Regions from separate parts of the Homo sapiens genome. Here region 1 is linked to region 2. Evidence: promoter capture Hi-C in 16 types of primary human blood cells and fetal thymus (Javierre and others, 2016). All regions are on one chromosome and are shown on one strand. Each heading gives the region's core, a stretch centred on a gene start or on the middle of the fragment in contact. The rest is flanking DNA. Distances are from core to core; before and after follow the strand shown. Region 1 overlaps COL4A3 (collagen type IV alpha 3 chain). Region 2 holds the start of SLC19A3 (solute carrier family 19 member 3).

Evidence for each region. Contacts are between HindIII fragments. The CHiCAGO score rates a contact against its expected background, and 5 or more counts as called.
Region 1: a contact is called between a fragment that was not itself captured here and the fragment with the promoter of SLC19A3 in region 2, in 2 of 17 cell types (activated CD4 T cells and monocytes). The highest score is 6.0, in activated CD4 T cells.

The regions. Positions count from the first base shown.
Region 1 is chr2:227,291,115-227,294,742 of GRCh38, reverse strand. It overlaps COL4A3 (collagen type IV alpha 3 chain), which reads right to left. Exons shown (of 52, transcript NM_000091.5): 38 at 1,426-1,552; 39 at 173-253. All of the region lies in intron 2 of MFF-DT (MFF divergent transcript), which reads left to right. Among named protein-coding and RNA genes, the nearest start is that of MFF-DT, 32 kb to the left of the region's middle. The HindIII fragment of the contact is 4,732 bases long and covers 1-3,628 here.
Region 2 is chr2:227,716,642-227,719,969 of GRCh38, reverse strand. SLC19A3 (solute carrier family 19 member 3) reads left to right here and starts at 1,942. Exons shown (of 6, transcript NM_025243.4): 1 at 1,942-2,027. RefSeq lists an enhancer at 1,525-2,411. The HindIII fragment of the contact is 1,627 bases long and covers 1,655-3,281 here.

The DNA of each region.
Region 1 (3,628 bases), core at 463-2,962, 420 kb after region 2:
ATTTGAATTAAATAGATAGAAATATCTAACCCCATTTTTTTTGCATTTTTGTCTGGATACTGAGTAACTAGGAGCTACCTTCTATAGAGTAGTAGGTTTACAGAAATCCAAACCTCAGGAGAAAATGTGTCTCCCACATGAAAAGGAAAAAGAGAAAGTACAAAAATGAAACCTGGAGGGCCTCTGATTCCTGGAGGGCCCAGGAGGCCTTTGATTCCTTTAAAACCCAAATCACCATGAGGACCTGGCTTTCCTGGAAATGAAGAGAGGGGAAGGAAGAAAAAAGATCACCAAAAGATAAATGATTACAACAGTGACTGAAACGGTCTGTTTTTATAGTCAACCATGCTCACGCTGGCCTTAAGGAAGCTCTCTTGTTGCAAGGTCACCCCATGATTTTGTCCAGGCTGCAATTTTCCTGGAGAACCAGTGCAGAGATGTGTCTAATCACTTTCAAAGATGTGTGTACACCAACCACAAGCACCACTCAATATGCGATTTTATTTTAATTGCGAGTTAAATGCAAATTTATTGAAACTTTCTGTATTTGAACAGGTAGTTTATTGTATTTAAGTAAGACCTGAATCTGCAACCCGATAGTTTCACAGTTGTTTTTAATAAAACAAAACCCTAAACCTGAATTGTAAGCTAATAAGCCAGAAAGCCAAAATTCAATCCAGAAATGGGTTCGAAAAAGAGTCACAGCACAGTGTTGTAGTTTGAATTGTGTTGTCCCCAAATTCATATGCTGAAGTCCTAACCTTCAGTACTTCGGAACATGACTCTGTATTTGGGGATAGGGCTGGTAAACAGGTAATTAAATTAAAATGAGGTCAGTAGGGTGGGCCCTAATCCAATGTGAGTGGTGTCTTTATAAGAAAAGAAGATTCAGACACTTGGAAAACACTGGAAGAAGATAGCCATCCACAAGCCAAGAACAGGGGCCCCACAAGAAACCAACGCTGCCGACAGCTTGATCACAGACTCGGAGCTGCTGGAACTGTGAGAAAATAAACATCTGTAGTTTAAGCCACCTAATCACTTCTCAGCCTTTTGGCTAACATCAAGTGTAGTTTAAGCCACCTAGTCTGTGGAATTCACTATGGAAGCCTGGACAAACTAATACAAACATTATGATTGTATAACGGCTAACATTTTGTATCCTTGGGCTGAATTTGTTGAGGCAGTTCTTCAAAAGTGTTTTTTATAGGAACATATTTTTGTATTTCAGTCCAAATGGGCTGATTAGTAAAATTGGGCTCTCTTAATGAATTCTCTTAGTGTGTTAGAATTTGAAGTTCAAAGTTGAATAAAAGCAACTGCAGCATAAAAGTATAAATAGCTTTCTGTTTACCACAATGATTTCAGGAGGGCTATACTCTGAGTAATGCTTCCAGCTTTTAGAATTGTAAACTCAAGCCTTACCTGGGAGGCCAGGACTTCCAGGACTTCCAGGGGCTCCCTCAGGTCCAGCAGGCCCCAAATGTCCAGGTGGGCCAGGTTGCCCCATTTCTCCTTTCTTTCCCATATCACCCGGCAGTCCTGGATCCCCCTTAAATGTAGTCAAATACCTTTAAAATTCTCATATAAGCAGGATATGTGGTAAGAATTCAGCATAAACTTTATTCACTAATTTTTTCATTCATTCATCAATTCATATTAGTATCTGCTATCTGCCAGCACTGTGATAGGTGCTGGGAATAAGACGGCCACATGGTTTATGGGGCCCAGTGCAAAATGAAAATGCAGTTTCCCTTAAAACTTTTTAAAGTGAATTTCAAGACAGCAACAGCATAGCGTCAGACCAAGTGTGGAGGCCCTTCTTAGCACAGGATTTCTGTGACTGCACTGGTAGCATACCCAGGAAGCCAGCTTTTACCAGGATATAATGGTAACCTATATAGATTTATGACATACACAGTCCCTGCCTTCATGGAGCTTCAGAGACCAGTAAGGAGATAGATATTAAATAATCACACAAATATATAGTTACAAATTGTGATGAGTAGCTGGGAGTAAGAAAGAAATAGACTAAATAAAGATGTATCCTACAAATGCTATGCATGCACATATGTCAATCACATGTTTTAAAAACCTTCCAATGATTTAGTGTTCATTAAATCTTCACTTCAGTTTTACGACAAACCCGAACATATAGGTTTGATAAAGATTTACAAAATTTCTATGGTAGCCAATTAAAATATACTACTCTGTTACTCTCATTTTGCTGACATGATAAAACCAGCTCATTTTGTGTTCAATGCACAGTTCTAAAAATTTATTCTGGTGGTTACCTGTGAAAACTTTAAATCTAAATGAAACTATCAGTTAATTGAGTGTGAAGTCAAATAGGATTTTTCGTTGAGCAAATATCTCAGTGGAAGCAATCTCAGGTTTTCTGAGGACTTAATCTAAATATAAAGAACAAAGACATTTGTCTGTGCTCCAAGTAGTAAACAGTTGCTTTCTTGGGTCTGTGTAGTGTCTAAATTTTTTTCTTGTTTTAGCAGTTACTACTGGAGACTATAGCTGGTGGAAATATTTAGGAAAGGTGGTATTTTATTGTCTCCAAAAAGAGGGAGAAGGTTCCCTAAGTAATACTTTTTATATATTGGAGTCATACATATACTGTTGAAAATCTAAAAATCTAAATCTGAAAAATAGACTCTACCCTACAAAAACATTTTCAAACATTTTGCATTTAGTTTCAAGAGGTTGCTGGGCTTCTTGGGATCCCATAGATTTTCCCAGTGGTCCATGGAATCCCACGTTAGCAACTTCTGCTTATAGGAACTTCTATTAATCATTCTCTAGTGGTCTATCTCTGGCTTTTAGTGTGAGAGCTGTACTCAGATAATTGGGAAGAGAATAAACCTAAGAAAGCAGCCAAGCCCTATTGAAACATCTGGTTGCTGCTTTGTATAATACAGTAGTAAGGGCTTTAACATCCAACCTCAATTTGACAAAGCACAAACACTGAAAACATTGAAACAAGATTAAGCATTTCCATTCCATTACACAGAAAAAGTTCTAAAACAAGAAAGATAAATGTATCTATCTTAGGATTTTGTTCGCTTTCTAATGATGCTGTAAAGTTATTTTATTTTGTATCTTTTGTTAGTCTTTGTAAGACAAGTGTTTTTTTTTTTGTTTTTTTTTTTTGTTTTTTTTTTTTTTTTTGAGACGGAGTCTCGCTGTGTCTCCCAGGTTGGAGTGCAGTGGCGCGATCTCGGCTCACTGCAAGCTCCGCCTCCCAGGTTCATGCCATTCTCCTGCCTCAGCCTCCCAAGTAGCTGGGACTACAGGCGCCCGCCAAAACGCCCGGCTAATTTTTTGTATTTTTAGTAGAAACGGGGTTTCACCATGTTAGCCAAGATGGTCTCGATCTCCTGACCTCGTGATCCGCCCGTCTCGGCCTCCCAAAGTGCTAGGATTACAGGCGTGAGCCACCGCGCCCGGCCGACAAGTGTTTTTTATTAGAAGGTTTGGAAATTTATTTTTATAAGTCTGAGATGAGTACAGCAGAAATGGGCCACTTTGTATCACAAGAAAAAACCCACTGTCCTATCTGATTGTATGGGCCTGTAATCACTGCCTTCTTCTGGCAGCACACCTAAATTGCAGAGAC
Region 2 (3,328 bases), core at 693-3,192:
ATATTAGAGAATCAGAGTAAACTTCTCAAGGTCCAATTTGAACTCATTTTCTTCAAGAGGTGTGAAGGAAATCATGACACCTTCAGCCTTTAAGAAAATTTCACAATATTCTTTGGGAGGACCCAGCAATTTGCAAGGTTGCACAATGAGCAGGGCACTCCTACACCTAAGGTTCAGCTCAGGACTTTTCACAAATCATAGGAAGATGAAAATAGAAAACGCAGAGTCGTAGGACAGAGAACCAAGACACCTCGGGGTGTTTTAATCCATTTCACTTCCACTGGTAGCCCTTAGAAGCCACGCAGTGTTTATCTTTAGGGAGGGTTTTTCAAGTCCACCAAGAGATGAACAGAAATAAAAATATTTTTTCCATTTTAACCAATAAGAACCTTGTAATGCTTTAAAAAAATTCTCTGTTTAATAAGAAGTTTCACTTTAATATATAAACTCTTTGCAGGCTAAGCGTAGTGGCTCATGCCTGTAATCCCAACACTTTGGGCGGGCAAGGCAGGAGGATCCTTTGAGCCCAGGAGTTCAAGACCAGCCTGGGCAAGATAGTGAGACTCTGTCTCTACCAAAAAAAAAAAACAAAAAAATTAATGTGACGTGGTGGCACCCACCTGCAAGCCCAGCTACTTGGGAGGCTGAGGCAGGAGGATCAGTGTGCCTGGGAGATTGAGGTTGCAGTGAGCTGGGGTTGCACCACTGCACTCCAGCCTGGGAGATAAAGTGAGACTTTGTCAAAAAAAAAAAAAAAAGAAAGAAAGAAAGAGAAAAGAAAAGAAAAGAGGCCAGGTGGCCGGGTGCTGTGGCTCACACCTGTAATCCTAGCACTTTGGGAGGCCGAGGCGGGTGGATCACCTGAGGTCAGGAGTTTGAGACCAGCCTGGACAACATGGTGAAACCCCATCTCTACTAAAAATACAAAAATTAGCTGGGTGTGGTGACGGGCGCCTGTAATCCCAGCTACTAGGGAGGCTGAGGCAGAAGAATTGCTGGAACCCGGGAGGTGGAGGTTGCAGTGAGCCAAGATCGTGCCATTGCACTCCAGCCCGGGGCCAACAACAGCGAGGCTCCATCTCAAAAAAAAAAAGAAAGAAAGAAAGAAAGAAAAAAGACCAGGCGCGGTGGCTCACGCCTGTAATCTCAGCACTTTGAGAGGCCGAGGCAGGCGGATCACGAGGCCAGGAGTTCGAGATGAGCCTGGCCAATATGGTGAAACCAAACCCCGTCTCTACTAAAAACACAAAAATTAACTGGGCGTTAATTTTTGGAGGCTGAGGCAGGAGAATCGCTTGAACCCGGGAGGCGGAGGGTTGTAGTGAGCCGAGATCGCGCCACTGCACTCCATCCTGGGCGACAGAGGGAGACTCTGTCTCAAAAAAAAAAAAAAGAAAGAAAGAAAAGAGAAAAGAAAAGAAAAAGAAGAAGAAAAGAAAAAATTGTTTGTATCAGATTTTCAAAGTGCCAGGAAACCATCCCACTCTACCTCCTTTAAAAAAAAAAAGTGCAGAGTGATTATAACCACTGGCTCTGGAGCCAGGAGCCCCAACTAAAACCCAGGCTTCTCTATTTACTAGGCCTACTTCCTTCCGCCTCACTTTCTTCATGTGTAGAGTGGGGGTGACAGCCAGCCAGCCCTCTCTCCTAAGCTTTTGGAGAGAAATAAATGGATTCATAAGAAAGGACATATTTGTAAATAAAGCAAACGATCGCTGTTGGATTCAGGCCCTCTTGCTTCATTATGCTGAATGTCAGTGTATTACTTAAGTTGTTCCTTTCAGCAGAGTTGACTGTTTCTGCCCAGAAAACCGGCCCTGGGCCAGGAAAATCTGGGCTTCCACACTGGGATGAAAGGTCTGGACGCCCGGATTCGCATATGCAAAGCGTGGGGGCGTGGCCCCGGGCTCCGGGCCAGGCAGGCTCCGCCCCCTTCCCACCAAGAGCGCCTGGATCCATCCGACAGCCGCGGGTGCGTGGTCGTGCGGCAAGTGAGCGATTTGGTGAACAGACACTCCCTTCTGTAGGTAAGAATATCTCGGGGGGCGAATTAATTGAAGAAGCACCGTCATCCCTCGGTCTTAGCAGTGTCGCCTCTCTCTTCCCGGGTTTGGAGAGCTGGGGGCGGGTTCCTGGCTCTGCGGGCCTGGGCTACACTCTGAGCCGCGTGAGGAGCTCTCCCCCTACGCCGCAGCCCGCGTGCTGGGATTCACCCAAGTGGGTTTGTCTGGAATTCCCATTTGCAGCCTTCTGGAAGCGCAGATTAAATAAAATCATGATTCCCGTAAAGTGCCAGCACCTCCTATGGTTACATCCCACGTTCACAGATTTTAACTGAAAAGGCATTTTAGCATAGAATTCCAAATTCCAATCCAAGGATGGAGAAAAGGTCCTTCCTAGTGGGAAAAAGGAAGGTGAGTTTGAATTTAAGAGAGCAGGGGCTTTTTTGGGAACCACTTGAAATTTAGTTAATTGAAACTAAAAGAAAACGCAACTACACCTTACAAAAACACTGCTGGAAAGGATACCTAAGTCATCAAATAATAAATAGTGTGACAGCTGTTTACCAAATCAATGTCGCTGCCGCAAATGTGCAAAAGGTTGGGACTTTCGGAGTGCTTCAAGTTTGAAAAAGGTAAAGGAATAATGTTTTCTAAAAGTACTCTCAGGCCAGGCGCAGTGGCTCACGCCTGTAATCCCAGCACTTTGGGAGGCTGAGCGGGGCGGATTGCTTGAGGTCAGGAATTCGAGACCAGCTTGGCCCTGGGATGAAACCCCGTCTCTACTAAAAAGGCAAAAATTAGCCGGGCATGGTGGCGGGTGCCTGTAATCCCAGCTACACTGGAGGCTGAGGCTGAAGAATGGCTTGAACTTGGGAGGCGAAGGTTGCAGTGAGCCAAGATTGCACCACTGCACTCCAGCCTGGGCGACCCAGCAAGATTCTGCCTCAAAAAAAAAAAAAAAAAAAAAAAAAAAGCACTCTCATGTGTTTTGCTCCTATCAATATTGAAACATTGGTGTCTCCTGTGGCAAAAGGTGTTTTTTTCATCGAGGCACATATATTAAATAGACCAAAACATAACTTCCCAAATATCTTATAAGATTATCCTAGTAGTAGCTGAAATGGACAAAAATACCAATTTCCTTCAGTCATTATTGCTAATAGACCAACAACACTCTTTTAAGGTTGTGTAATGGTAAATGCATACACATTTATTTAACATGCACACAGGGAGAATCAGAGTGATTGATTACCCACCCTGCAACATGTCTCAGAAGCTTATAGACTACCCTGGCAAATGAGGTTACGGGAGGGAGCCGAAGAGCA